6 separate regions of the Homo sapiens genome follow, and all the other regions are linked to region 1. The links are contacts of gene promoters, found by promoter capture Hi-C in human tissues and cell types (Jung and others, 2019). All regions are on one chromosome and are shown on one strand. Each heading gives the region's core, a stretch centred on a gene start or on the middle of the fragment in contact. The rest is flanking DNA. Distances are from core to core; before and after follow the strand shown.

Region 1 (3,362 bases), core at 19-2,518:
CTGTTTGTCATGGTCTCTGTTTTATCCTCCAAGATTCTGCTATTCCTTTTATACTCAGGGCTCTTCTCCAAGGTGTGTAGGTCTCCCTCAACAGACAGGCAGGGGAGCTTAGCAGGTGGGGGAAGCTCACCTCGATCCCACAGCAATGGCAGTGAAGGGGGCAGCGGCAGCAGCAATGGAATCGACATTTTCCTTTTGCAGGGCCTGTTGCGGGCAGCTCTGGGAGGAGCAGCGCTCCTTGGAGGAATACAGAAAGGCTTCTCATCAGGCATCCTCTTTCCGGACATCAGCGGAATCGGCAAGCCTAGGGAGCTGGGCGGTGGCTCTTCATTCAGCACTTCCGCAGCCAACTTCTGCTGCAGCAGGGAGCAGCCAACGGCTGGCTCAGGGGGCGCTGTTGCATCCGGATCAGGCTTTCCAAGATGCCGGGCACATCCGGCCTGGCTGTGTGTGCTGGGCATGGCAGGGCCTTCCAAGCAGGAGCTCGCTGGAGACGCCTGGGCCTTCTCACTCATGCTGTTTTCTGAGAACTTGTGGTAGACATTTCCCTCCAGAGGCCCAGGGCTGCATCTGAAGGAGGCCACGTCTCCCTGGGTGCCCTGGGACCTGGATGTGGACGATGCTTCTCCGCTGCTAAGGGGGGTCCTTTTCTCGTCATCCTCCCCTTCGATCTGCACCGGATCCTCATCCTTCTTCACTCTTCTGGGCCCTTCTTGGGCCCACACCTCGGTCTCCTCCAGGAGAGTGGCTGGGATGGGCTTCCTGGCCTTGACCGCCGGCTCACGTGGTGAAGGCAGCAGGAGAGTGAACATGCGGCTGGGAGGAGGGATCCTTACGGAACTGGGGTGTCCAAACCTCGGGGGGTTCCGAGCAGGCAGCATGGGTGTCTTCCTGATGGCCAGCCCCCAACCCACAGCCGGCAGGACCCCCAGAGGGGCGGCCGCAGCCCGAGGGAGAGGACACGGCCTCTTAGGGGCGACGAAGATGCTGGCTGCTGAAGGCCTGCGACGGGCGTTCCGGCGGAACAGGCCGCGGAAAGGGCGCGGGGTGGGTACAGAGTGAGCCCGACCGGGCGGGGAGGCGTCCCGGGACAGGGGAGCGGGGGCGCCACGCCCTGGCCCTGGCAGGGGCCGGCGGCGGCACCCGGGTCTAAATTTACTAAGTAAATTGCCCATTTAGAGCTAGCCGTGCCTCCTACCGTAAAACAGGGTCAGCAGTGGACTCAACTCTCCTCAGCCACCGCCTCCTCTGGCGACCAAGCACAAACTGACTGGCTCTACGCCTGCGACGCCGCCGCGAGGTTCCTCACAGAACCAGGGAGCGCCAGCGGGGGCGCAAAAGGCAGGGGTCAGAGGGCAAAGGGCGACGCCCCGTCGGCCCCAGCTGCCCCAGGACCCCCGGAAGCCCCGCTGCCGGTGGCAGGTGTTGCACCGCGTGGCCTCTATGAGGGAACTGCTGGGGCCTGCGGGCCCATCGCCAGAGCTCTTGTCACCTGGGCGCCGGCTCTGCCTGTTCCTTAGCCCTGGCCCGGCGCTGTTGCACGCAGTGGCCCTGTGTCGGCCGTCCCCATTCCCCGGTTCACAGAGGGCACATCTGCTTCAAGTTAAGCACAGGACAACCTATATCCTGCCAGCCTCCTCTAGGACCTTGGCAGTGCTCTGTGCTGCCTGGAGCCAGGTGTGCCGTCTCTGTGGCGCCAGGGTCACCAGCCAGGCCGTGAGGGTTTCCGAGGAGGGGACGTGGTGCCTTGTCCTGACTAGATGCTACGCCCTACCACATCTCTTCCTGGCAGGCAGGGCCTCTTCACTTCTTTTCACAAATTTGTTTTAAACAACATTTAAGGCTGGGCGCGGTGGCTCACGCCTTTAATCCCAGCACTTTGGGAGGCCAAGGCGGGTGGATCACCTGAGGTCAGGAGTTCGAGACCAGCCTGACCACCATGGTGAAACCCCATCTCTACTAAAAATACAAAAATTAACTGAGCGTGGTGGCACGCACTTGTAATCCCAGCTACTAGGGAGGCTGAGGCAGGAGAATCGCTTGAAAGCGGGAGGTGGAGGTTGCAGTGAGCTGAGATCACCTCACTGCACTCCAGCCTGGGGGAACAGAGCAAAACTCTTGTCTCAAACAAAAACAAAAACAAAAAACCACAACAAACAACAGCAACAACATTTAAGCCTTAGGCTGCTTGCTCCTTGGGTCATTGATATGACAGTGGCCTAGCCAGGCTTCGAACCTGGGCTGTGTGATTCCAGAGCTGGTGCCGTGGCCTGTGTGCCTCCTTGTTATGGACACATCATGTATTCTCATTATTTCCTGTAGTCCTTAGGGTACCTAGCACACAGCACATCTGTATTAAGCACATGCGTTCCTAGGGGGAAGCCCTTACTTCACCTCATAAGTTGGTCATGGCAGGCACTGGGCTCCAGTCTCCTCTGAAGACATGGGGCAGCGACCCCCAATAGTCAGCAAAGCAGCATCCCACACTGTTCTTCTAATTGAGCCTTGCAGCCCAGATTTCCTTTTTGGTCTAGTTTGAAGGATCTAAATATGTAAAGATTATAGTCCAGATCCATTTTGGCCTATCCCGAAAGAAATTCACCAGTGGATTAATCCAAATGGATAAGCCAGTTCTCTGGCCTTCTTGGAATATGTTAGAAAGCAAATTCATCATGTATTTGCAAGTCAGTAGTGGAGCAATGTATTCGATTAAAATATGATCAATACAATTTGGTCATTGTCCGCATGCCAGCAAGGCCCACTCTTTACCACACATTACTGTCACCTAAGTATAACTATCCATATTCTTATGCCCAAGGAAGGAGACTTAATATTGGTTTTTAGGACAAAGGAAATATGTGTTACTGTTTTAAGAGCTGGAAGTTTCAGCATGACAAGAAAGATTTGGAAAATCCTACACATGACCTTATCTAGTTTTAATCTTGTTTCTTTGGTTTATTTAACTGGACTGCTTTGCTCTCTTTGGGCTAATGTTGTGTGCCAGACATAGGACATGTGGAAGGTTCAGAACCAAGAATCAGAGATCAGTAAAAATATTTTAATGTATTTTTTAGTTTAAAAATCGATTTAAAATAACATCAAACCTAGTTAACATACTACAAAATCCTTTTTATCCCCCTGTTCATATATTTTATACTATGTCAGAGTAAATGTGGGCTTCCATACCCAACAAAGCTTATGTTTCTAGGACACAAAGTTTTGCTCAGACCCAAATTCTGTTTAAAAAGAGGAGACATATTATAAGTCCTTCCTAACCTCTCAGGGAACCGAGAAATTGTTTACAATTATGGCATTTAACTGTAATCTCTTGATATCATTTGAGGAGAGTTTAATAAAAAATA
Region 2 (3,701 bases), core at 1,028-3,527, 560 kb after region 1:
CAAGATACCACCTTGGGAGATGTTCCAGGCTGTGGTGTGTCATGGACTTTGGAAGTCACTGTGAGTTGAGAAGATGCAATTGAGAGTCGAGTACAGATTGGATGGATTGCATCTAGCATTTCTTCACATCCAGTGGTAAGAATGGGAGACAGCATCCATGTCAGCATCCATGCAGGCTGGACTGCTAGTGTCATCAGTACTCACTGAAATATGGTTCACAGAAGTACAGGAGCAACGCAGAAACAAAGGCAAAGGCACAAAGAAACGTTATTTGAGTGAAGATTTAATATTGCACAAAGACTGACACTTTTACATGTTGTACCAAAACCAAGGCTTAAAAAATAACCATTCGAGATAAAGTAAATGATGCGTGTAAGTCAAATGAACCAACCAAGTCGACACAAACCTACTTTTACTCTACAATTTTCATACATGTGGCTGATAAACTCACTATATTATAAAATAATGAAAGTGGAGCTTTCTATTTATAAGAGCAGAACAGAATTATCAGAAAAATAAGGATAAAAATATTTTTACCTCCATTTGTTTCCCTATAAAACCTGAAGTTTGCTTTATATTTGGAAAATAATTTGTCACTTTCTTCACTACATCAATTCCACTGCCATTCTAGTTTGCGTGGAGTATACGGTTGCTATTTATACGCAGTAAAATTAAGTTAAATGGTGCCAGGCTGCAATATCATAGATGAGGGGTTATTACTGTTGTTATTTTAACCAAGATCTGTCATTGAAATTCTCCGTGTACAGTATTGAAGCCAAGAGACCCTGACTGCAGCCCTAACTGGAAAATCAAATGCCCATCTACTGATTTGGAGCACTTATAAAATATCAGTGTTCACGCTCTCTTGGTTGCTCACATCTCATAAATCTTGGACACATGTCCCCTATGTCCCCAGAATAATTTTAGATCATTATATTGATTGTTACCTTTCTTGTACAGTAGACATGTGTTATTGAGTTTCAGCGACTCATTCTGTATGAATGCTTCACTCACAAGAGGATGTGTTGTCAACATAGTCGTGTTCGAATTAAGACACTCCTCACTGCAAGCTCTCAATAAATTCTGGTCTGTTTGTTGGAGTCCTGCTAAATTATATCTGAAAATGGGGCTTTTTGAGACATGTGAGTAATAGGCATCTGTCTTTCAAAAAATCGTTACGTAGTTAGCACCAGATGCTAAAACTGGTGACTGAAAAATGCGGAATATGATGAAGAAGATGAAAGAGGATGAGTCTCTGGAACTTGGGGGGATCTTCCTGAAGCAAGTGTACCGGTGTTCAAGTTGGTAAATCAATATGGAAGGATGCTTTGCTATTCTCTCTCTACATGCCCTTTCATCTCCTGAGCTGAAGCTATTCTGTCTGTGCTTTGGAATTTTTTTCATATCACATTTAATACTTTTTTCAAAAACATTTTTTCTTTGAAATAATTTTAAATACACAGAAATATGCACAGATAGTACAGAAAGCTTTAGACATCTTTGAATTACATGCAACGTAATAGATTATGTAACCATGAGCCCTAAAAAATAGTTGGCACAAAACTATTTATTGAAGTATAGGCTTTTTCCATATTTTACTAGGCTTTTAAGTAAAAAATGTCATTTTTCTGTCCAGGATACCACATTGCATTGACTGTCAGGTGTATTATTTATTGCTGAATAACAAATTGTCACACACTAAGTGGCTCTTACTCACGGTTTCTCTGTATCATGAATCCAGATGTAGATGATGGCCAAGGATGAGGTCTCAAGTGAAGGTTCAGCTGGGGAAGGCTCCTCTTCCAAGTTCGTGTGATTGTTGTTAGGAGTCAAGGCCCTGTGCTGGTTGAGATGACTTCACTGGTGAACTATTCCAAACCTGAAAATAATTAATAAAAATCTATCACAAACTCTTCATAAAAATTTAAACAACTGTAAAAGTGGAGAAGATATCACTTCCTGATGTATACTATTAGTTAGTTTACACTGACATTACAACTAAAGCAAGACATTTCATGAAAGAAAAATTAAGGCCAATATGTTTTATAAATAAAGGGTAAATGTCTTCAATAAAATGCTAGCAATACAAATCAGCAAATGTAAAAAGAATTATACACCATCATCAAGGGTATTTGTCTCAGGAATGCAAATTTGGTTCAACATATAAAATAATTAGTGTCATGACCTATAAGAATAAAATAAAAAACAAAAGCCATATGATCATCTCAAAAGATGCAGGAAAGGCACCTGACAAATCCAAAATCCATTTTTGATAACAGTATACAACAAATTAAGCCTATAAGGAAAGTTTCTTTATTTTAAAGGGCATCCATGAAAAACTCAGTATCATCATAATTTAATTTAAAGGCTCAATAATAGTATAAACTTGGACATACAGGTCAAAGGAATATAGTAGAATTCAATGTCCAAAAATTAATCTTTACCTTTATAGTCAAATGATTTTATAAGGTTGCCAAGCCAATTCAATATGGAAAAATATATTTGTAACAAATGTTGCTAGGACAATTGAATATCCACAAGCAAGTTGAACTTCTCACTCATACCATATACATAATTGGCTCAAAATAATCATATATCCAAATGTAAGATCTAAATAGACCAAACCCTTAGAAGATAATATAGAAATACATAATTTGGGTCTTAGGTTAAACAATAACTCCTATAATTTCTAAGATATGATACTTAAAGCCCAAGAAAAGGAAATAAAAAATGAATATATTTAACTTTGTGAGAAGTAAAATCTTCTGAGACTCAAAGTACATAATTAAAAGTAAAAAGATAATGCAAAGAATAGAAGAAAATCTTCACAATCACATAGCAGAAAACAATCTATTAGCCACAATATATAAAATATTTTACAACTCAAAAAGGCAAATATCACAATCAAATTGGTGAACTATCTGAACTGACATGTATCCAAAGATACTATAGTCACGTCTAGTAAGCACATCATATGAGGTCTAAGTCTTTTGTCATTAGGAACATGCAACTCTAAACAACCATGAGATACATTTCACAAATCTAAAGGGTATATTGCAAAAAAAAGTAAATTTAAAAAGGCAAAATATTTGTGTGATTTTGGTCGTGTGACACTCTGCAATGTGAAAAAGTATACAGATAATAAAATGTTTGGTATTTACTAGGAGCTTGGAAAAGAGGCAGGTCAAATTGGTGAGGTACAGCAGATTTGCTCTAGGCAGTGAAATTATTCTGGTATCATACTGTAATGATAAATGCATGATTATATTTTAGAAATCCTAAATAACTTTATAATACAAAAAATGAATTTAAAATATACAAATTAAAAACCTCCTAGAGTAGGTGGCAGATAGCATGGGGCTATACACATAATAGAATGAAATAACACATCAGTGAAATAACCTCACTGAATGGAGTGGTGGAAAAGCAACTGACCCAAGGAACGTAGCAAGTAAGTGGATACTCTGAGTCTAAAGGGTAAAGATTTATCCCTAAAAACTTTAGTTGGTAAAGTTATTTCTCATGGCCATATACATTTCTAATTCTGAAACCACTTATACAAGTCTTTCAGATTATGTGATTAAATAACAGAAGCATCTTTATCACTGTTAGTGTGGTAGGCTACATACAAGTAAGCGGGAATAGGTGCAGTGATTCACGTGGTACTGGATTAGATCATGGGGTGCTGGAGGATTATTAGG
Region 3 (3,432 bases), core at 822-3,321, 600 kb after region 1:
AAAACTGCCTTCTGGCCAACAGTGTTCTGACACTATCAAATTTAAAATGCTGCATCTGTATGTGAAATGTGAAAATGTGCACTCTCAGATGAATGGAACACAGCATTTCTGTTAATGCCCATTTCTCATTGTTAAGTAAGGGTGGCACATCTGTGTATTCTGGCCTGTTATTGAGAAAACGTGCCTAGAAACATTTTCACAGAAATTGACCACCTCTGTGTCTTCCCAGCTATTAAACACATGAGAGCTTCTGCTGGGGTTTTGGAATTCCTATTTTCTATGTGGAGAAGTTGTTATATAAACTATGATTCATGAAATCCATTGAGAAGCAAAATAGAAATTTTAAATAGGTATTTGAAAATGCAAATTTGGTTAAATACACAAAAAAAGTTAGTGCCATGCAATATATTAAGAGAAAGAAAAAAAAAATGATCAAGATTTGTAGTACTGAGAGGTGACAATGTGCTAGCAGCCCTCGCTTGCTCTGGGTGCTGCCTGGGGCTCTGCGTCCACTCTGGCTGCACTTGAGGAGCCCTTCAGGCCGCTGCTGCACTGTGGGAGCCCCTCTCTGGGCTGGCCGACACTGGAGCCGGCTCCCTCTGCTTGCGGGGAGGTGTGGAGGGAGAACCACAGGCGGGAACCTGGGCTGTGCATGGTGCTGGCGGGCCAGTGCGAGTTCTGGGTGGGCGGGGGCTCAGCAGGCTCCGCGCTCCCAGCAGCAAGCTAGTGCCGACGGCACTGCCCTGGGCAGTGAGGTGCTTAGCATCTGGGCCAGCAGCTGCAGAGGGTGCGCCAGGTCCCCCAGCACTGCCAGCCTGCCCACATCGAGCTCGGATTCTTGCCAGGCCTCAGCTGCCTCCCCACGGGGCAGGGCTCGGGACCCGCAGCCTGTCATGCCCGAGCCCCGCAACTGGTGGGCTCCCGCCAAGCCTCCCTGATGGGTGAAGGCTCCTGCTCCATGACATCCGGTCCCATCGACCACCCAAGGGCTGAGGAGTGTGAGCGTGCAGTGCAGGACTGGCGGGCAGCTCCGCCCTTGGCCCCAGGCGTGGGATCCACTAGGCAAAGCCAGCTGGGCTCCTGAGTTGGGTGGGGACTTAGAGAACTTTTATGTCTAGCTAAAGGGTTGTAAATGCACCAATCGGCACTCTGTGTCTAGCTAAAGGTTTGTAAATGCACCAATCAGTGCTCTGTGTCTAGCTAATCTAGTGGGGACTTGGAGAACTTGTGTCTACCTAAAAGATTGTAAATGCACCAATTAGCTCTGTGTCTAGCTCAAGGTTTGTAAAGGCACCAGTCAGTGCTCTGTGTCTAGTTAATCTATTGGGGACTTGGAAAACTTCTGTGTCTACCTAAAGGATTGTAAATGCACCAATCAGCACTCTGTGTCTGGCTCAAGGTTTGTAAACGCACCAATCAACACCCTGTGAAAACGGACCAATCAGCTCTCTGTACAATGGGCCAATCAGCTCTCTGTAAAATGGGCCAATCAGCTGTCTGTAAAATGGACCAATCAGCAGGATGTGGGTGGAGTCAAGGGAATAAAAGCAGGCTGCCCAAAGCAGCAATGGCAACCCACTTGGGTCCGCTTGCATGGTGTGGAAGCTTTGTTCTTCGCAATGAATCTTGCCGCTGCTCACTCTGGGTCCACGCTGCCTTTATGAGCTGTTAAGACTTACCACAAAGGTCTGCAGCTTCACTCCTGAAGCCAACGAGACCACGAACCCACCAGGAGGAATGAACAACTCTGGCCGCGCTGCCTTTAAGAGCTGTAACACTCACCGTGAGGGTCTGCTGCTTCATTCTTGAAGTCAGCGAAACCAAGAACCCACCAATTCCCGACACAGCACTAGTATAAAAATAGGTATATGTAGGAAACAAATGGCTAAAAAAAATTTTAAAAAGGAATAAAGTAACAATAAAAAAGGATAGGTATATAGATCAATGGAATAAAGCTGAATGTCTAAAAATTACAACTTTATGATCTCATGATTTTATAAGAATGTCAATTTAATGCAATATGGAAACTTTTTGATCAAGTGTTGTTGGGTCAAGGGGATCTCTATGAGTTGAACTATTTAATCTGACACACATACATGTATATTAATGACTCAAATTATGATTAACTTAAATACAAGAAATAAATAGGCTTAACCCATAGAAAGTCACATAGGAATACATGCAGCTTCAGGTTAAACAATGGTTTCTATGATATGAATGCACACGCACCAGAAACTGAAGAAAAAATAGATACATTAAAATTTTTCTGAATTAAACAGTTTTGTGACTCAAAGTATACCATTAAGTAAAAAGACTCACAAAATATTGAAGAAAATCATTGCAAGCCATGTAGCTAATTAAGCTTCTCCTATGCAGAATATATAAAAGCATCTTAACAACTCAAAAATCAAAAGGCACATATCCCAATCAAAAAAGGTAAACTATTTGAATAGTTATTTCTCTAAAGAAGTGATTGTCATGTACAATACGCACATCAAAAGATGCTCAATGCTTTTTCTCATAAAAAAATGCAAATCGCACCTGTAATCCCAGCTACTCAGGAGGCTGAGGCAGGAGAATCGCTTGAACCCGGGAGGTGGAAGTTGCAATGAGCCAAGATTGTGTCATTGCACTCCAGCCTGGAAGACAGAGTGAGACTCTGTCTCAGGGGGAAAAAAAAGCATTTCAAAACAACTAAGAGATATACTTCACAAACTTAGAAGTCATATTGATATGTAATTACTTTTTAAAGTCTTTTCAACTTATATTCATGTGGCTATTTATCTTGTGATAAATCTGACATCATATTCTGGGAAAGGCAAACATGTAGAGATAGTAAAGCAGTAAAGTTTAGTGGTTACAATGGCATCAGGAGAGGAAATGCCAGTAAATCTTAAGTACAGAGGATTTGTTTTGGGCAGTAAAATTATTCTGTATGATACTGTAAGTGCGGATACATAACACTGATTTTCAAATTCTAACTTACATTATTACTAAGAATGAGCATAAAAGTATGCAAATTAAAAACCTTATTCAGTAGGTAGGGGTATCCCAGGAGGAAATGCAGGCAAAAATTAAATACAACTATATAATAACTATAAGACATAACTTCATTGAATGGAGTGGGGAATGAGGGACTGACCTATGAAACAGGAAATAAATGGAGATGCTGAGTCTTAAAGGTTTTGTACATAAGCACTGCACTTTAATTGGCAAAATTCTTTCTCATGGGAACATTACCAATTCTAAACTCACTATATATGTACATATGCATGGGCATTCCTAATTCAAAAATCAAAATTTCAACATTTAAAATGCCATTCAGCAGAATGCCTCCTCATCCATATGGGATGTGCTTCCTGGTTCCTCAACTGTTTGATTTTTCTTCTCACCTATTAAAATAAAATATGATGTATAGTAAGCTTTAAATCA
Region 4 (3,892 bases), core at 1,257-3,756, 690 kb after region 1:
TGTCCTTTGTAGGGACATGGATGAAACTGGAAATCATCATTCTCAGTAAACTCTCTCAAGAACAAAAAACCAAACACCGCATATTCTCACTCATAGGTGGGAATTGAACAATGAGATCACATGGACACAGGAATGGGAACATCACACTCTGGGGACTGTTGTGGGGTGGGGGGAGGGGGGAGGGATAGCACTGGGAGATATACCTAATGCTAGATGACGAGTTAGTGGGTACAGCTCACCAGCGTGGCACATGTATACATATGTAACTAACCTGCACAATATGCACATGTACCCTAAAACTTAAAGTATAATAATAAAAGAAAAAAAATTTGGCAAATAACTTTGCTGAACTGTGTCCATGCCAAGGGCTTTGTAAAGACACTGACTACTGACTGAAGAACTAGGTAATCTGGCAGAAAAAATTTCTAAAGCCACAAAGTGTTCATATTACTTCTAAGCTGTGTGTGTGGTTACTTCTAACTGCTTAAGGTGAACTGCTAGAGAAAACACACACAAACACACACACACACACACACACACACACACACACAGAAAAATTCTAAAAATTTTCAGCCTAGCCATGTGGTAGAGAATGAAAGAGCATTTTCAGGAGAAAAATCCAAGGATGTCGCAGAGCCATAGCTTGCCAGAAATTACAATGGCTAAAGCACAGCCAGCTGTTAGTAGTCAAGACAACGGGAAAGAGGCCCCTACAACCATTTCAGTCATTTTCTAGGCTGCCTCATCCATTGCAGGCCGACAGGCCTAAGGGGACAGGGTGGTTTCTGGGGACAGCCTGGGCCACTGCCCTGCACATTGTTAGGATGTTGCTCTGCTCATTCCAGATGCTTACCATAAACCCAGGTGGAGCTTATGTCCCAGAGCTCTGGGAGGTACAAGCCCTAAACCTTGGAGGTGTCCATGTGGTGCTAATCATGTAGGCTTACAGAAATGAAGATATGTAGAGGCTTGGCAGTTTCTACAAATTTCAAAGGATTTCTCTGAAAGCCTGGAAGTCCAAAAAGACACTTGTCACAGGGCCAGATCCACTGAAGAGAGTCCCAAATAGAGGGATGCCAAACACAAATGTGGGGTTAGAGCTACTGCAAGGGGTGCCCACCAGGGCAATGCTAAGTGAAGCCACAGCAGTGAGGTCACTGCAGAGTTCCATGTGGGTAATGCTTAGCAAAGTTGAGGAAGTGGTACCACTACCGGGACCCCCCAGAAATGTGTAGTCACCTACAGCATGCAATGTCTGCCCTGGAAAACTTCATGTACCTGACTGCAACCTGTACAAGCACCCACGGAGAATGTACCAAGCAAAGCCATAGGAGTGATAGTACCCGAGGGCCTGTGAGTCCAACCTTTACCCCAGTGTGTTCAGGAGTCAGAGAAAGAGTCAAAAAAATATTCCCCAGCTTTAAGATGTAATGGTTGCCCTGCTCGATTTCAAATTTGCTTGAAGACTGTTACTTTTTGTCCATTTCTCTCTTTTAGAAAGGGAATGTGTACATTATGCTTATCCTGAAATTGCCTTTGCAAAAATGGTAACAGAAAATTATGACAGTGAAAGAGAGATGACCTAAGTTGACGCCATCTTGCCTTTTAACCTCTAAGCTGCCTTTGTTCATTCCTGGGAAAAGGCCAAACTAACTTTGGGAGGAATTTAGTTGCTAGCTTAACTTTGAAACGAAGATGACAAGAGAACCTCCCTGAAACAAATCCCCTCATTGTTTGGGGACTAGACCACTCCTGCAAACACACGAAAATAACCACAAGATTAGAAAGTATTACTCAGGAGTCATAAAGCCAGAGGCCACAAGACTATTAACCTCCCCAGCGGCTCCTATAGATAACCTATTAATACAGTAAAACCTAAGATTGTAGTTTGAGGGATTTTTCGGACCTTGTATTCTGATGAATCAGCTGGTGCTTCCCGAAACAGTAACCTGTCTCATCTGGACTTGTGGCCCCCACACAGGAACTGACACAATGCAAGAGGAGATGTCCTCCTGTTGCCTATCTGTCCTCCTATCTGCTTACTATAATTTCATCTCTGACCCAAATAATCTAAATTCCCCATTCTCCAGCCTCCTGCATTCCAAATTATCTACAAAAAAATCCTAACCTCAGATTTTTTTGGAAGCTTGCTTTGAGTAATAATATAAATCTTGTCTCTTGTTTACCTGGCTCTACAAGTATCAAACCCTTTCTCTATAGTAATTCCCCTCTTGATAAATTGGCTCCATCTGGGCATCAGTCAAGATGAACCCATGAGGCCATTACAAACTTAGGAGCTCATAGGGATATATCCCTTGTGTTTGCCAATCTCTCACTAGTGGCAGATCTGGAGAACAGCCCAATTTTCTGCCTAGTTCTCTTCAAATAAAGGCTGTCTCTGGCACTGTATCTACCAGCAGGGTGCTACTTACCCACAGTGTATGGATCTAACTGGAATAGAGAAATAATTCCTGGAATGAAAAATGTTAGCTGGTTTGGTGAGTATTCCACTTCTCCTGATCTGTTGGCCCCTCTAGAGGCATTGCAGCTCTATCATGGGAACTGTCCAGCTCTCCCTAGATTGCAGGAAGAGGCTCTGTTGGCCTCAAAGGTACTGTGGCCCCATCATGGGGTCTGCCTGTATCTCCCTGAATTGTAGTAAGAGTCTTGGTTTGAGGAGATTTCTCTCTCCAGTTGGAAGGGAATAGGGGACACGTTTGGAGGAATACTCTTCTGGTTTGGATTTGATCAGAAATTTTGGTTTGGAAGGCCTTCTGTTTTTCTGTATTTCATTGAGGGAGTTTGCATGTATGGAGGAGATCTCTGAAGAAATTGTTGATGGAATTACTGCAGGCTTTCCTAGTTTGTCTGATCATTCGGGTTTAGTGAGCGTTACAGGAACTGCTAGCAGGAGCTGAATAGGTCTAACTGAGGGTGACCATCCACCCTTCCATGTTACCTGGGGAGCACCCATTGAAACTACTTTTTGGAGGTCATCTCTCCCTATCTTGAGTGGATCAAAGATGACAGGGGCCAATGGCAACAAGTTAAAGCTTTGCCAAATCAATACTTTGATGGTGAGTGGGGTGATTAGTATCTGTATTTTGTCACATGCATTTTGCTCTGGCCAACATGAGGAGTGTTAATTTGGTTCCCATTGCGGCCCACTGGGTGGCATCTTGCAAAATTTTGTAACACAGCTTGGCCCCCACAGATATGGTGCAGAAAACAGGGTCATCAAAAGTTGCTCCATTCTCCTGGAAGCTGCAAAGGGAACTTGGAAAACTGGCAAGCTAGCAAAAAAGTAAAAATTTCTTACCAGCCAACCTCTCCCTGTGCAAAACCAGTGGAATGAATTGTAAAAGTCACTGTTTGTCTCCTCTGCAAGTTTTGATTAGAAGAAAAACAGATCTATGTGACTAAACTTTTTGTCATTCGGTTGTCAATCTGTCATAGAGAGGAGTACCACAGAATAGAACGTAGGCCTAAGACCCCTAAAAACTCAGTGTTTGAGCTGGCCCTGCGCACTGGTTAGTTACAAACTTTCTTGCAGGTTCCTGAAAAAAAAAAAAAGTGACATTTTCCTCTTTTCTCATTTTTTGTCCTTGAGAACTTAACTTTGTAACCATGTGAGAGTACTGTCCCTTTTTCTCCCACATATGGAGGGTTGGAATTTTTTATTCATGTCAGGCACCCAGTCTGAAAGGACACATTGAAGTCACAGCTTCTCTATGTCTGTTTATTGATATGCTTCATAAGTATAATATTTCACTACCAAAATATTTAAAAGAGCTCTAATGAATTGGCATGTCTATATAATGCACTTAAATATTTTATCACAAGAAAATTAACTACATTGCCTTTTAGTTCACATGACTCTAATAATCTGTGA
Region 5 (3,600 bases), core at 169-2,668, 660 kb after region 1:
TGCACTCTGTGCAGAGAGTAACTGATCTGCTTCCTTCAGGATTGTGTGGTCCTGGGATCTGAGTGCTGCTTTGTCCATTGGATCTGGCTTTGGGTCACGGAGGCTCATCCGTCTGTAAACCAGGTGTTGAGCAAGACATTAGACCAGACAGGGCCCCATTTGCCGAGATTGACATGGATTGTCCCTGTCCTCAGAATACATTCTGGCAAGTCTATTTCAGTCTTGACAATCTCCTCAGTGAGGAGACCTGGTTGACCCTTAAGGCCAGTGTTTCAACCCTGGATGCACCATTTTCAGGTGAGCAGCTTTAATCAATTTGGATACCTGTCAATTCTTCAGGACTCAGTTTTATCCAGTGAAGGAGAGCCACATAGCATCTAACTGTAATGATGTTGTTGCCAGGCAAAAGCTCAGTATCTTAAGTACATGTAGGCCATGTACATTTTTCAAATGGGCTTTTAATTTGTTGTTAGTGTGAAAATTTTATTGTACAAAATCCCACTGGCAGGAAGAATTTAGAATCTAATTTCTTTGTCCACAATGACCATGGACCTTTCCACATTCAGCACGCATCAGAATTTCCAACCAAAGTTGTGAATCAGAAGATGGATGATGCAAAGTGTGAAATGTGTTAATGTAGCCTTTCAGTGTTGCAAGTGCTTATGTTTGTTTTTGTCCCCACACGAACTTGGAAATTCTTAGTTGTCTTATGTATTGGTTTTAGGATGATGTTTAAATAGGCATATGCTGTCTCCCATATCCAAATAAACCTACTAATCTTTGCCCTACATGTTAATTGATGCCTTAGGGGCTTTTATCTATCATTATCATCATTACTTTTCTCCCTTCTAATGGCTGTTGTACTCCTTAAAATTTGCATTTGGTGTCTGGGCCTGTGGTTTGTCTATATGAATAGTCTATCTCAGTGATCTTAAAAGCAATATTAATTGGGATGTTTCTTGTTTAACATTTATCTGGCCATTGTGTTAACATTTAATGTCATGTATGTATATTATTAATGATGTGTATTTTAATTCATCTATGAGTGATGATAAAATACAGTGGGCTGGCCAGGCGCGGTGGCTCACACCTGTAATGCCAGCACTTTGGGAGGCAGGCGGATCACGAGGTCAGGAGATCCAAACCGGATATCCTAACACGGTGAAACCCTGTCTCTACTAAAAATACAAAAAAAAAAAAAAAAAATTAGCCGGGCATGGTGGCAGGCGCCTGTAGTCCCATCTACTCGGGAGGCTGAGGTAGGAGAATGGCGTGAACCTGGGAGGCGGAGCCTACAGTGAGCTGAGATTGCGCCACTGCACTCCAGCCTGGGCAACAGAGCAAGACTCCGTCTCAAAAAAAAAAAAAAAAAAAATACAGTGGGCTGTTTAATTGCCTTGCATTAAACTTTTAAATTAGTATTTTTTGTCTTTGTAAATAAAGTTGGTATATTCCTGGTTTTCTTTACTGGTAAAACAAAGACACTATCTAACAAGTCTATGGTTACATAGTCTTTTTGATTATAGTAAGAAATTGTAATAATAAATTCTACATCTGGTAATGTTTCTGGCATTTTAGGTGAGACTTTATTTAAATTGGTATCATCAATAGTTCATCTATAGCTCTCATTTGGTTTCAGGACAGGCCATACTGGACAATTAAAGTTATTCAATATGCCCATTATAGTAATATCTTCTTTGAGGAGTCCACATCCTTTGCTTTTATTTCTTCATGTATTCCCTGTAATGGGTACTGTTTAGTGTATGTAGCCTGGTGGGGTGTAGTCACTGTTAGAGGTTTCATTTTAATTTGTGTTAGGTCAGAGAACTTTCATTCCTTTAGTTTCTTAATAAGCCACCTCAGGTTTAAAAGCTTTGCAATCAATCCATTTCTGTAATGTTTTCTAATTTTGGTGAACAGTAAAACATGCAAGAAATACATTTATAGTGCATATAGAAGCAGAGACTGGGGAGACTCTAGTTAATATTCCTCAGTCCTTTATAGAGATGTTTGTATCAAAGTGTGGTACGCTGTATCTAAGGAGGCTTATTTGTCATCTGGTGTCTAAAAGAAATGTGTCCATATGTGTATATTTGTCTATCTCTATAGCCAGTGTATATATGTCCTGTGATCCCCAAGTTCAAGTATTATAGCCTGGGGGGGTCCAAGATTTAAGAAAAAAATGTCTTGTAAAATTTCTGTTTTCACTGCTGTTTCTGAAGAGGTGGGTTTAGTCTTGGAATTCAGGAGTGTCTTTCCCGTTATTTTGGTATCCGGATGGTGGCCTTAGATGGTCCTGTTGCCAGTTTGGCCTTTATGTCCTTGCTTGCCAATCATTTTGTTTAGATTGTGAATTACTTTACATGGGTTACCAATTTCTCTATGTTGGTTTATTTTGCCAAGGTATACAGCCCAATTTTAAATAAAATTTGAGACTTTTATATTGAACATAAATTTAATTTTAGTGCCTTCCAGGGTTTATTTCTTAGTATTTGTATTAGGTTTGTAATAAATATTACCTTATAGGCAGCTGATTTATCTGCCAAAAGTTTGAGTGTTTCCAGTGTATCTTACATGTTTGTCCATGCTGAGAGAGTGTTCCTTTAGGAGACTTTCAGGTTAGGAGGTACTCATAATAGGTGCTCTTAATTTCATTTGAAGCTAGAATTTCAAATGAGTGGCATATCACTTCTAGCTATAATATACCAATTGTAAAATGACTAATTTCCTTATATTTCTTTGTGGCTGATGGTAAATCATTGCATTTGAGTCCACCTCTAAATTTTGTTGGGTCTAAATATGGTTGGATGGATCTACAGGTGAATGTGACCCAGTCCCAGAGATTATAGGACATGTTTTGGGTATTTTATTGTCAGTTCTATGCTGGCAGACCAAACAGTGGATCAAAAACGTTTTTCTGATCCACTTGAAGCCCCTCTGATCTGGGAAGGCTCTGTAAGATAAAACCTCAATATTCTTCTGTGGAAACAGAATGGGCCACCTCTCAGGGATACATGTTTCAGTCCTCAGGATGGTTACAATCAGAGGATGGCAAGGTTCATCTACCAGCTGCCGGCCAATGGAAACCTTCACCAGGCCTTCCACCAAAGTAAGAATAAAACCTATCAATTGCCCCAGAGATTGTTTTCAGGTAAAAATGTGCTACCAACAGTCAAATAGGTCATTAATGCTTGTGAGACTTGCCTTAAGAATTATCCCCTCAATCAACAGCTTATTACCCCCAGAACCCAAAGAACAGGAGCTACCCCAGGGAAAGAATATGTTTCCCAGGCTGTTCTTGAACTCCTGGGATCAAGCAATCCTCCTGCCTTGGCCTCCCAAAGTGCTGGGATTATAAATGTGAACCTTCACACCAGGCCCAATATTAGACCTTATTGTTTGAGAAACTGAGTCTCTTCTCTTTCTATCAAATAATAAAGGTTTTGGTTTTTAAAAATATTTAAAATACCATTTTTGGCTTAATAATTTATTCTATACTGATCACTGGTTCTGTTTTGTAACATCAAGTGTCTTGAACCTTTGATATTTGACAAAATTTCCAAATCGAATTCTAAATTCAGTCTTAATGGCCTAATTAAC
Region 6 (3,753 bases), core at 972-3,471, 780 kb after region 1:
TATTGAATAAGTGAACAAAAATGATCATCTATAAGGGTCATAAACATGAAAACCTTTTACAATATTATGCTAGTAGATAAAAGAAAGTAAATAAAATATTTCAATTCCTTTATACCAGACCATATTACAAAAATATGTGCTGGCTGGAGACGTATGTACACATTATCTGAGTGGCTTTTTTTTGTTTTGTTTTTTTAACTAAAAACTATTTTAACGTTCACTCAATGAAAAGTAAGAAAGAACACATGTCTACATAATGGATCATCTGTACCAGTAGCTATAATATTATGGAGACATTTACAAAAATGTGGTACAAGGAATCAAGTATGACAGGCAATGCATACAGCTTTTGGGTAAGGAGAAAAGCAAAGAATATGATGATATTCACACTTGCAAAGTGTCGGTTCTGCACACTCAGAAGGCGTTTCTAGAAAACACTAACAGAGAATGTGCACCATCTGTCTTTCCTAATAAAAGTGATCTTCCCTTTCAACTTAGGAAAAAGTGATGCTTGAAAAGATGAAAATAATTGAAAAAGATTTTTTGAAACATTATTATGAATGTATTTTTAAATACAGATATGAAAGGTATTAATATACAATATAAACATACAAATTCAGTTGTAGATAATGTTTATATATGCCCCCCTAAAATATACATAAGTGTTGAAGATATGTGCATGCCAAGACAAACAGCGAGAGCATATATTTCAAAGCAAGGCCTGAGTGGGCATGTGTTTGGGGTCAGCAAGCAAGATGATTGTTGAACAAACTTGATCTTTATGCAAAATAATGGAATTGCCCAATCGACCTCAGAGAGAAGGCAGGGGGCAACTGGTCTTGCTCCTGCAGATCCCACAACAGGCTCTGAGCTCAGATGCACAGGCTGTGGCCCCATCCTTGGCAGATGTGGTCCAGAGAAGGAGCAGGACCAACCATCGGAGCATCTGTGCTTCCAAGGGAGACACGCAGAGGTGTCTGTGTATGTTCCTTCCCTGCTGGCTGCTGCTCTCAGAGTAGAAAGTTCCTAAGGCTCCAGAAAGCAGGGAAGGGAAATGAGGAGGCGAGAGATTGAATGAAATTCAGCGAGAATGTACTAAAAAAAAACAAAGTTGGAAGTGGCATGGGAGGACTGCCTAAGATTCACAAGGGTGTTAAAGACATAAGCAACAGTTAGTAGTGTTGTAAAATTCTAAAATATCCTTATTTGCGGTACAACTGGGAATATCAGTGTAGGTACAGGGCATGGAGGTTTTACTCTTCTTTTTCTTTATGACACCATAACACAGTGTTTAAGAAAATGGGCTTTGAGGGAAAAATTCTTCTGTTAAATGAACTTTCTTAAGAACAAGACAGTGTGGTATGTGCACAGAGATAGAAAAATAAATCAATGAAAAAAATAAGAGAGTTAAAACACACACACACACACACACACACACACACACACACATATGCATATCTAAGCAATTTATAAAGGAGAAAATTGGGAAAAGACTAGTTATCAATACTGTTCCAGGAAATGGAATATCCATACAGGGGAAATAAAATCTGACCTTTGAGCTCATGTTACACACAAAAAGCAATTCCAGGTGGATCACAAACTTCAAATACAAAAACAATTTCCAGTAGTTAGACCCTAACTTAGGAAAATAACTTTATTACCGTGATATTTCTTTTCTTTCTTTTTTTTTTTTTTTGAGATGGAGTCTCGCTGAAGTGCAGTGGCACAATCTCGGCTAGCTGCAACATCTGCCTCCCATGTTCAAGTGATTCTCCTGTCTCAGCCTCCTGAGTAGCTGGGATTACAGGCATGCACCACCATGCCTGGCTACTTTTGGTATTTTTAGTAGAGACGGGGTTTCACCACGTTGGCCAGGCTGGTCTTGAACTCCTGACCTAAGTGATCCGCCCGCCTTGGTCCCCCAAGTGCTGGGATTACAGGCGTGAGCCACCATGCCCGGCCAATATTTCTTAAAGTAAGACCTGAAAGTATGTTTCATGTGAGGAAAAAGGTATGCTACTATTGTTGATGTCAGCAAAGACTCTAGAGATAGGCAGAATAAAGCCTAAGCTTCTTTCATTCCTTTCTTGTGGATCTTTAGGCTCAGCTTCAGAACTGAAACATGAGTGTGATCGTAATCCCTATATCTTGGCATGCTGTGAGGATTACTAATAATACTCAAAGCCTGTGATGAATAGAAGGTATATACTAACTACTAAATTAGTAGTTGATAATACTGACAGCTTTTTCTAAGTAATTGCAATATGTATCATTTGCACCAATTGAATGATGTATCATTACTTTATATATGACACTGGAATAATAAAACTACTTACCGATTATGCCACAGATCATTCTTATCACTTAACATTTTTTCTTATAATTGTTGAAAAAACTTTTCAATCTATATAAATGTAGACATTTGTCTTATATAAATCGTGTGATTACATGAGATGGAAACTATAAGCAGAATACATTAACAAAGTGAATTCTGAAATATCTCCCATGAAAAGATAAAGTTTTCTGAAATAGTTTTTAATTCATCCTCTCCATGATTTGTCCCATACAAACATCATTTGTCCTTATCAGAAGCTGTGATGATGCCACTTTTGTTATGAGGGTCACGTGACAGTCTCCATGAGATTATCTTTCCAAAATACTTACAGCCCCTCTGCAACTTTTGATGTTGATGATCTCACTGGAATGTGTCAATGGAAGGTTTTTAGACCAAGTGCATGTTCACATGAGGCTAATCACATCATGACTGCCTCCTCACAGTGGTGTTTTCATTATCATTTTTGAGATACAACCCTATTTGAGAAATGTGAGTTGTATAATCTGGCTTCAATGAAATACACTATTTTTTCTCTGTGACTCCTTCCTCCTCACTGTAAAATCATGGGGTTTATCTGCTGTATTTTGGTCTATTATTGAGAAACTTTTTTTTTTTTTTGAGATGTAGTCTTGCTCTGTCGCCAGGCTGGAGTGCAGTGGCATGATCTCAGCTCACTGCAACCTCTGCCTCCTGGGTTCAATCAATTCCCCTGCCTCAGCCTCCCAAGTAGCTGTGACTACAGGTGCCCGCCATCACACCCAGCTAATTTTTTGTATTTTAGTAGAGACGGGGTTTCACCATGTTGGCCAGGATGGTCTCCATCTCCTGACCTCCTGATCCGCCCACCTGGGACTCACAAAGTGCTGGGATTACAGGCATGAGCCACCGCACCCAGCCGAGAAAACATTCTTAAATATAGTTTAATATATATTGGCCAACTCCATTTGTCTTCTACTGAGGGATTAGAGATTTTAGAGTTATTAGTAGATTACTGGAACTCTTAAGTACTATAGTAAATTATTATAACTTTATATTGCTCAGGCATCCATTTTGAATAGAGATTTAACTTATTCAAAAAGCAGGGTTTAATCACCTAAGGCAAGGTTGCTAGTTTTTCACCTTCTCCCTGTTCCTTGGTGGGGTCTATCCAGACCCCTTCCACAACCTTCCACAACCACATCCTGGTGATGGCCTCTGTGGGACAGCTAGGTATAACACTTGTCTCACTTGGCTGACCCCTCACAACCCACATTTACTATGCAGTTATGCCTCAGTGACCCCCTCAGTCACAGTGTGCCCCCCAGAGCTCTTACCTACTTGCTCTAAACCCACCACTTAGAACTCCCCAATGGAAGCCTGTATGAGTCATGCGCTGAACCCCAGTAGACGCTTTGGCCCTCTGGTCACTCCCTGTTTCT

What was found. The method cuts DNA at HindIII sites, captures the fragments that hold promoters and counts their contacts. A contact is called where the count stands out against the background at its distance.
Region 2: a contact is called between a fragment that was not itself captured here and the fragment with the promoter of NPAP1 in region 1, in 3 of the 25 tissues and cell types used here (lymphoblastoid cells, mesenchymal stem cells and mesendoderm cells).
Region 3: a contact is called between a fragment that was not itself captured here and the fragment with the promoter of NPAP1 in region 1, in 5 of the 25 tissues and cell types used here (adrenal gland, dorsolateral prefrontal cortex, mesenchymal stem cells and 2 more).
Region 4: a fragment that was not itself captured here is called in contact with the fragment with the promoter of NPAP1 in region 1 in 2 of the 25 tissues and cell types used here (dorsolateral prefrontal cortex and mesendoderm cells).
Region 5: a fragment that was not itself captured here is called in contact with the fragment with the promoter of NPAP1 in region 1 in 1 of the 25 tissues and cell types used here (lymphoblastoid cells).
Region 6: a contact is called between a fragment that was not itself captured here and the fragment with the promoter of NPAP1 in region 1, in 7 of the 25 tissues and cell types used here (H1 embryonic stem cells, dorsolateral prefrontal cortex, heart left ventricle and 4 more).

What each region holds. Positions count from the first base shown.
Region 1 is chr15:24,673,681-24,677,042 of GRCh38, reverse strand. NPAP1 (nuclear pore associated protein 1) reads right to left here and starts at 1,268. Exons shown (of 1, transcript NM_018958.3): 1 at 1-1,268. The coding sequence starts at 1,175. The HindIII fragment of the contact is 8,790 bases long and covers 1-3,362 here.
Region 2 is chr15:24,109,536-24,113,236 of GRCh38, reverse strand. It overlaps a transcript of LOC105370733 not described here. Among named protein-coding and RNA genes, the nearest start is that of PWRN2, 59 kb to the left of the region's middle. The HindIII fragment of the contact is 6,456 bases long and covers 1-3,701 here.
Region 3 is chr15:24,076,004-24,079,435 of GRCh38, reverse strand. The region is part of intron 4 of PWRN4 (Prader-Willi region non-protein coding RNA 4); the gene reads right to left. Among named protein-coding and RNA genes, the nearest start is that of PWRN2, 92 kb to the left of the region's middle. The HindIII fragment of the contact is 4,554 bases long and covers 1-3,432 here.
Region 4 is chr15:23,989,150-23,993,041 of GRCh38, reverse strand. The region is part of intron 3 of PWRN4 (Prader-Willi region non-protein coding RNA 4); the gene reads right to left. Among named protein-coding and RNA genes, the nearest start is that of PWRN4, 16 kb to the right of the region's middle. The HindIII fragment of the contact is 5,439 bases long and covers 1-3,892 here.
Region 5 is chr15:24,011,861-24,015,460 of GRCh38, reverse strand. All of the region lies in intron 4 of PWRN4 (Prader-Willi region non-protein coding RNA 4), which reads right to left. Among named protein-coding and RNA genes, the nearest start is that of PWRN4, 39 kb to the right of the region's middle. The HindIII fragment of the contact is 7,333 bases long and covers 1-3,600 here.
Region 6 is chr15:23,889,289-23,893,041 of GRCh38, reverse strand. No RefSeq gene overlaps it. Among named protein-coding and RNA genes, the nearest start is that of PWRN4, 84 kb to the left of the region's middle. The HindIII fragment of the contact is 6,351 bases long and covers 1-3,753 here.